Regions from separate parts of the Homo sapiens genome. Here all the other regions are linked to region 1. Evidence: promoter capture Hi-C in 16 types of primary human blood cells and fetal thymus (Javierre and others, 2016). All regions are on one chromosome and are shown on one strand. Each heading gives the region's core, a stretch centred on a gene start or on the middle of the fragment in contact. The rest is flanking DNA. Distances are from core to core; before and after follow the strand shown. Region 1 holds the start of LINC01562 (long intergenic non-protein coding RNA 1562). Region 2 overlaps FAF1 (Fas associated factor 1). Region 3 overlaps FAF1 (Fas associated factor 1).

Region 1 (2,566 bases), core at 27-2,526:
TGCTGCTGCCCCCGCCGACGCCGGAGCCACGGCCGCGGGCCTCATCCTACTCCGCCTCAGCGAGACGGCGGCAGCCAGAACGAGGCCGGCTCGGGCACTGCGTCATCGCGCCGTGCGTGCTCTGGTCCCGCCCCCGGCGCCAGGAGGCGAGGGCGGCTCCGGCGGCGCCCATCCCCCTCTCCACTAGCAGCTGTTCTCGGTGCTGCGTCAATTTTTGCTTCTCTCTGACTGCTTGGCTCCGTACCTGGCTCCGAAACCAATCTCCCGTCTCCCGCGCCTCCCCACATTCATTGCTCCTGCCCCGTCTAGGGCTCAGTTCTTACCTGTGCACTGCCTGACAGTCTTCTCACCACCCTCCGCCAAGCGGTCTATTTATATAAACCCATATCGGAATGGATCAGTCCCATGATTAAAATGTTAAAAGCTTCCCCTTTATCCCTTCACAATAAAGTCCTAGCTCGTTACTGAACCATCCCTGCCTGTCCAATCACGTCCTTATCCTTCCACATCACAGCCAGAGAGATTATTCTTCCAGTTGTATATCAGATTGTTCATTTCTTTCCAGTCCCAGCACCAAAGTCCAAGCCACCATCATCTCTCACCTTGGCTTCTGCAATAGACTCTCAGCTGTTCCTGAGTTCATCATTGCCCACATCCAATTCACTGTTGGCACAGTTGACAGAGTTATCTTTTTAAAATTTAAATCGGATCATGTCATTCTCCTGTTAAAACCTTCAGTGTCTCCTCAAGGCTGTCCTTAAGACAATCCTTAAATGGTTTACAAATCTGACTCCCTTTCAATCTCATTAGCAGCATTGTCACCTCCTTCACAAATTCTAAACTAGACTCTCTAAAATGCTTTTCGTTATCTGGAATACTATTGCCTCTGCCTGGGGCCTTTGTCCATATTGTTTCTCTCACAGAAACCCACTTCCCTCCACTCCCAACCTTTCTGCTTCTCATCAGGCTAATCATTATTCTCAGGAATCCTTCTGGATGCAACTTCATTTCCCCTGGGGAGACTCTCCTGACCCTCCAGTCTGGGTTAGTCGCATCCTGTGTGCTCTCAGACCCTGAGCTTTTCTCTGTCACAGCCTGATCAAGCTGAATCATCTGTCCCTCTGTGCAAGGCTGGCACACTGCCCAAGGTAGAGTATGCTCTCTCCTTGGTTGAATGAGCAGCTCAAACAACATATGCAAAAGAAGGAAGCAAGAAGGATGACAGTGCTCCTGATAGACGTTCATTCAACAGGTGGATCTTGACTGCCTTTCGTTTCATTCACCATTTACTGAAGTTGTGTGTGCGTGTGTATACCAGACCCCACGCTAAGGACTGGGGAAAAGGATGATCATACCTGGCTTGTTCCTGATAGAGCCCAGAGACCACCTGGGAAGACAAGTAATCAGGTGAGTCCTAAGCCCACACCCTGCCACGGACCCCAAGGTTTTTAGAGGAACTGAAAGACAGCAATTAGTTCATTTGAGTGAGGAACAGAAAGGATTCTTAGAGGTAGGGCTATATTAAACTCGAATGGGTCTGAACACTCTTACTCTGCAGTCCCTATTCTACGAAGTCACTATCTTATTTAAATGCACTCAAATTCCACATTAAATATCACCTTTTTGATATAAAATTTTTGAAAAGACTCATAATTTTGGGCCAGGCGTGGTGGCTTACGTCTGTAATCCCAGCAATTTGGGAGGTCAAGGCGGGTGGATCACTTGAGGTCAGGGATTCGAGAGTAGCCTGGCCAACATGGTGAAACCCCATCTCTACTAAAAATACAAAAACTAGCCAGGTGTGCTGGTGCACGCCTGTAGTCCCAGCTACTCGGGAGGGTGAGGCAGGAAAACCGCTTGAACCTGGGAGGTGGAAGTTGCAGCGCAGTGAGCCCAGATTGTGCCACTGCACTCTAGCGTGGGCGAGGGAGTGAGTAAGACTCAGTCTCAAAAAAAAAAGGAAGGAGAAAGAGAGAGAGAGAGAAGGGAGGCAGGAAGGAAGGAAAGAAGGAAGGGAGAGAAAGAGAAAGAGAAAAGAGAAAGAAAAGAAAGAAAGAAAGAAAAGAAAGAAAGAAAGAAAGAAAGAAAAAGAAAAAGAAAGGAAAGAAGGAAAGAAAGAACAAACTGACTCACAATTTTGGTTTTGGAATTGTTGAGCTTCCAAGAACTCATTTAATTTATGATTGGCTAAATTTACCAGAAATCAGAGGTACCCTGGAATTTTTACAAAGTGAGAAAATTTACCCCACAAATTATTGTCAAACCTAAAGAAATTTTTATTAATAATAATTTATACAATTATTTGACATAATATTTACACAGTGCTAGAATTTGTAGACATTGTTTGTTTGTTTTGGAGACAGGGTCTCACTCTGTCACCCAGGCTGGCTTGATCGAGGCTCACTGCAGCTTCAACCTCCTGGGCTCAGGTGATCCTCCTGCTTCAGGCCTCTCCAGTAACTAGAACTACAGATGCACACCACCATGCCTTGCATTTGTTTTTGTTTTTGGTAGAGACGAAGTCTTGCCATGTTGCCCAGGCTGGTCTCAAACTCCTGGGCGCAAG
Region 2 (2,566 bases), core at 47-2,546, 540 kb after region 1:
CAAGAATGAAAGAGATAATTTCTTCTGCAACTGGGCAGTGAATTCAAGCCTTTATTCAGCTTTCAGAAAAGACGATTATGCATCTTTTAAATATGCATATATATTATTAGTTTCAAGTTGCATTTGAAAACTGAGATCTGTTGAAATCATACCACTTCAAATGAATATAAATCAGTAGGGATCATTTTATAAATATTGAGGTTTCCTGTGATTCTTAACAAATTATCCCCTGAAGTAATAAATTTAATATTTATAATGCAGCTCTTTGGAACTGACAAGTCTTTTCCCCTCTCTGGAACTATTTTAGAATAATCTGGATTGGATATCTTTTTTGGCCCATATAAGTATTTGTCTACCTGCATTTCAAGACGATAGAAGCAATGACATTTTAAGAATTAAGAACAGTCTTTAGCCTTTTGTTACTTAAGATATGTGTATCAAACATGATAGCTGACCACATTTCATCATCTGTGATTTATGTGTTGGTAGTTTTGAAATGCCTGGGTTAAGAGAAATTCCGTTCAGTTATCAGAAACTAATAAACATAAGATTTTTTTATATGCAAGAAAAGGCAGAGAGTAAATAATTGCACTGGTGACCAATACTGTAATAATCCTGTTTTACAATATGCACTTGACAGGTTGTAATAGTGCTAATTGAAGAGACTAATTCACACTTGCTTCATTCTATTCAAAGGCAAAATCAGCAGCTTGTTTTGCTTTTGACCAGATGGTCCTCATGAACACCTACTGTGCACTTTAAGTGCTTTACTAGAATTACAAAGGCCGGGGGCTGCGTTCGACTCCAAATGATTTGAGAAGAGAGAGAGAGAGGGGGGAAAAGAACCTCTGTGCTCAATGGATTTGGTGCAAGTAAATTAATTCTAGTGGACCCATTACACACAGCCCCCTTTTCAAAGCTCTGAGCCTCCTCGCTTGCTCTGTAGCAATGAGAAAGAGAAAGGCAGATTACTGCAAACAGAAATAAAAAAAAAAAGGGGGGTATGAAAGGGAGAAAAGAGGCCTTGAAGCCTTTCATATCATTTGAGTTTTTCAAGTGCGTTATTTTTGGGGAGGGTGGATGTATGAAAAGCCAATTGGAGTTTTTTTTGTTTTAAAGTGCGCTATTTAAGCACCATGAATATAGGCGCAAGAGCAACAGTTGACTGAGTTTACTGTGGTGAAGCTTTGTGTCCGAGGATGAATCAAATTCATTATATTCAACTCTTTGTGTTTTAACATGAATGTAGGGTTAGTTTCACAAGACTGTGTCTGTTTAGGATAATTATAATTTAATATTTTCCTTTCATAAAGTTATCACTGTAGATGTCTAAAATTTTAATCAAAGCAGATTTTGTACATTGACTTTGAAGCACCCTGACAGTTTAAAATTCAAAGGAAAGCTTTTTTAGTTTTCAAAAGAAAAGGAAGGCTCATTCTAATGGCATTGAAGCAGAGATTATTATAACTAATTAGAAGTCACACATCTGTTAGCTTTTGGTTTCTGACTTACTTATGTATTTTTTGAGTAAAATATATACTTTAAAAATATATTGCTGTTATTGTGTGAACCTAAAGGGATAAAATGCACTTAAAAGAGAACCATTTATTTGAGCCAACCATTTTTTGCAAATCTCTAGATGGTCCTATAAAAATATGTAATGTAATAAAGTACATTAAGTGTGAATTGCAGTTGTATAATTAATAATCTTACTTTGGAATATGCTTTCAAACAATATTTTCACACAGTTCTGTTGTCATAATTCTGATTATTAACCAAAGTTATGAGATTAAAAAAACCTGTCCAGTTTGTACAAATTTATAGTTATTCCTTATCCTTAAAGCTGTTCATGTATAGTACTGTAATTTGGAATACTAAGACTGTGAAATAATTAGTTCTTATTGTAAACTATGTGGGTTAGGATACAAGGAATCAAATTTAGGAATATACATCACCTGCTTTTTATGTTTTTGTAGTTCTAAATTTAATTCTTGTGATATATTTTAGTGGCATTGTTTACTTTTGTTTGATGGCATATATTACCGCCACCATGTTCATTTTAATTTTAATTATAGCTATTATCAAAGAATACAACAAAATCATACCAATAGTTCATCATGATAATTGTAAATGTTTCATAGTCTTCTTAAAGTTTGTATCGTCTCTTCAAATTAATGTCTAGAATTTATATTTTAAAAGGCATATTGCATCAATAAGCTTTTTATGTCAATAAGTTTTAATTACATTTTTAGAAAATAAAACACAGAAATGCACAAGCAACCCCAAAAATCTTTTTTATTTCTTAAAGACTTCATTTAAGAAGGTAGCATGCCTTTTATATATTTAAAATAAAATTTGATTCATATTAATGTACTCATACTTTGGGAGTGCTCATTGAAATGTAAGTTATAGGGTGAGGAGGGATATAAGGAGAATTCCCAAACCTTCCACCAGCAAAATATACAATGAAATTTGTAAGTAATGAGGCATTAATGAATTGATATCCTTGGGGAGAAAAACATTTCAAGAAAAAATATGAAAGATTAAGAAAAACTCACTGCAAAAA
Region 3 (2,566 bases), core at 39-2,538, 510 kb after region 1:
GCGATGATGCTCTTTCAGGAATAGATGAGCAATTGCCAGTGGGGGACTCCTGTGGCTAAGTATTTTTGTTTTCAAAGTAGAAAAAAACAGTAGGTTTTTAACTTTTTAATATCTCCAAATAATTTGCTACAATTTCTTTTGAAATGATTTTTCTGTGAGTGTGACTTCTTCATGCTGGCTTTTTTAGTGATCAGTATTTGTGAGGTTTTAGCAGTGCAGCAGAAAAGGAGACCTGGCCAGGCACAGTGGCTTCCTACTGTAATCTCAACACTTTGGGAGGCTAAGGTGGAAGGATTGCTTGAACCCAGGTGTTTGAGACCAGGCTGGGCAACATAGTGGAACCTCATCTCTACAAAAAAGTAAAAAATCAGCCAGGCATAGTGGCACGTGCCTGTAGTCCTAGCTACTTGGGAGGCTGAGATGGAAGGATTGCTTGAGGCCAGGAGGTTGATGTTGTTATGAGCTGAGATTGTACCACTGACTCCAGCGTGGGTGACAGAGTGAGACCCTGTCTCCAAAACCAACAAACAAAAAATGATTTAATAAAAAGAAAATGAGACCTTAAAGTGGCCTGTAAATAAGTTTTTTGAAAACTTTATATATGTAAGTAAATGTCTGAATGATTCAGTTGTAATTTTTTTTTCCGGCCGGGCACGGTGGCTCACACCTGTAATTCCAGCACTTTGGGAGGCCGACGCAGGCGGATCCTGAGGTCGTGAGATCGAGATCATCCTGGCCAATATGGTGAAACCCCGTCTCTACTAAAAATACAAAAATTAGCTGGGCGTAGTGGTGCGTGCCTGTAGTCCCAGCTACTCTGGAGGCTGAGGCAGGAGAATTGCTTGAACCTGGGAGGCGGAGGTTGCAGCGAGCAGAGATCGCTGGTGATAAGAGTGAGACTCGTCTCACTTATCTCCAGCCTGGTGGTGAGACTTATCTCCAGCGTGGTGATAAGAGTGAGACTCCTCTCAAAAGAAAAAAAAAAAATTTCCCAAAGTGCTTTACGAAACAACTTTTTGTTATTTTCATGAATGATATTGTAGGGAAGCAATAAATGTTTTCCCTCCACCCTCTGGGGTCTTGGCTGGGTACAAATTGCATTTACATAAAACAGATTAACAAGAGGAAAACATACTTAATTATATATGTACACATAGAAGCCCCACAAAATATGAGACTCGAAGAATGATCAAATGATTGAAACTTATATGGCATCCTGAGCTACAGAAAGGAATAGGAGCGTGGGGCTTCTGGTGGATGGTATGATACAAGTTATGAGAGGGTAAGGAGAGGAAATGTATGGTGAATAAAGGTTGTCTTATTATACAAATAAAAGGTCTCTCAGGTAGTAAAAATGGTCTCAGAGTAGCTCTCAGAAGAAGAGGTGATCATCTGTCTGGGTATGGTTTCAGCCTTCAGTCTCCTTTTCTGTAACATGAGTTAATTTTCCCTGGTTGATAAGATTCCTAGGGTGGGGGTTCAGGACAGTTGAGTTCCTTTTGGAGGATCTGTCTTTAGGCAGATAAGGAGAGCTCATAGAAAGCCTGTGTTTGTGTCAGCTGTTCCCCAAGTGCCCTCAGTTCAAAGTAAGCAGCATACCAAAGTGTCATATTGTGGGGTTGGCATTTCCTGAACTCCGTCAATATTTATCCGTAAAAGTATTTTAAGTTATCAGTATTGTAATTAGAACAATGCATGATTTGATATATTATTCTTAAAGTAATTTCATTTCTCAAGAATAAATTGATATAATCAGTATTTCAAGTACATTGTGATTACTGTTCAACTTAAATTTAATTGTAGTGAGCATCATTGTTAGATTTTTAAAAGTGAAATTTGAAAGTACTGGGCTGGTAAATGTTTTTTAATAAGGGGCCACTTAAAAGTGGCTCATTTTTTGGGAGGCCAAGGCACGCGGATCACCTGTCAGGAGTTTGAGACTAGCCTGGCCAACATGGCAAACCCCCGTCTCTACTAAAAATACAAAAATTAGCTGGGTGTGGTGGTGCATGCCTGTAATCCCAACTACTTGGGAGGCTGAGGTAAGACAATTGCTTCAACTCAGGAGGTGGAGATTGCAGTGAGTCAAGATTGCACCACTGCACTCCAGCCTAGGTGGCAGAACAAGACTCCTTCTCAAAGAAAAAAAAAAAAAAAGTGTGTTTAATTTTAAGAAGAGGACATTTCCCAAAAGTTATGCACTCTGGATGAAAGAAGAAACTTGTCCTCAATTAAAGCACTGATGGAAATCACAACACATCTAATTGGAGTGAGGTACCAAACCCATTTATACAGTTTATTGCCTATTGATAGTTCAGTGACTACTGAGATTAGCTTGTTAGCATCACATTTTGAAAAAGAACTGCGGGTATTCTCTACGGTTGATTTAATGGATAGTCAGAAACTTGGTCACTACTCTAGGAAACAAAAATTGATATGTCTATAAATATTTCTTTGCTTTTTTCAAATTTTGTCTAGATGGTTAGAATTGTGTTTTGACAGTTTTGCCATGTACTACTTGATGCATCACAATATATCACTATCATCACTAATTACCACATTTTGA

The links. The method cuts DNA at HindIII sites, captures the fragments that hold promoters and counts their contacts. A CHiCAGO score of 5 or more calls a contact.
Region 2: a fragment that was not itself captured here is called in contact with the fragment with the promoter of LINC01562 in region 1 in 2 of 17 cell types (total CD8 T cells and erythroblasts); the score reaches 5.4 in total CD8 T cells.
Region 3: a contact is called between a fragment that was not itself captured here and the fragment with the promoter of LINC01562 in region 1, in 1 of 17 cell types (total B cells). The highest score is 5.8, in total B cells.

The regions. Positions count from the first base shown.
Region 1 is chr1:51,233,806-51,236,371 of GRCh38, reverse strand. LINC01562 (long intergenic non-protein coding RNA 1562) reads left to right here and starts at 1,276. Exons shown (of 2, transcript NR_147076.1): 1 at 1,276-1,407. RNF11 (ring finger protein 11) reads right to left here and starts at 99. Exons shown (of 3, transcript NM_014372.5): 1 at 1-99. RefSeq lists a silencer at 1-314. The HindIII fragment of the contact is 11,293 bases long and covers 427-2,566 here.
Region 2 is chr1:50,698,582-50,701,147 of GRCh38, reverse strand. The region is part of intron 7 of FAF1 (Fas associated factor 1); the gene reads left to right. Among named protein-coding and RNA genes, the nearest start is that of FAF1-AS1, 260 kb to the right of the region's middle. RefSeq lists enhancers at 238-902, 903-1,568, 34-1,625. The HindIII fragment of the contact is 217 bases long and covers 1,188-1,404 here.
Region 3 is chr1:50,719,592-50,722,157 of GRCh38, reverse strand. All of the region lies in intron 6 of FAF1 (Fas associated factor 1), which reads left to right. Among named protein-coding and RNA genes, the nearest start is that of FAF1, 240 kb to the left of the region's middle. The HindIII fragment of the contact is 7,975 bases long and covers 1-2,566 here.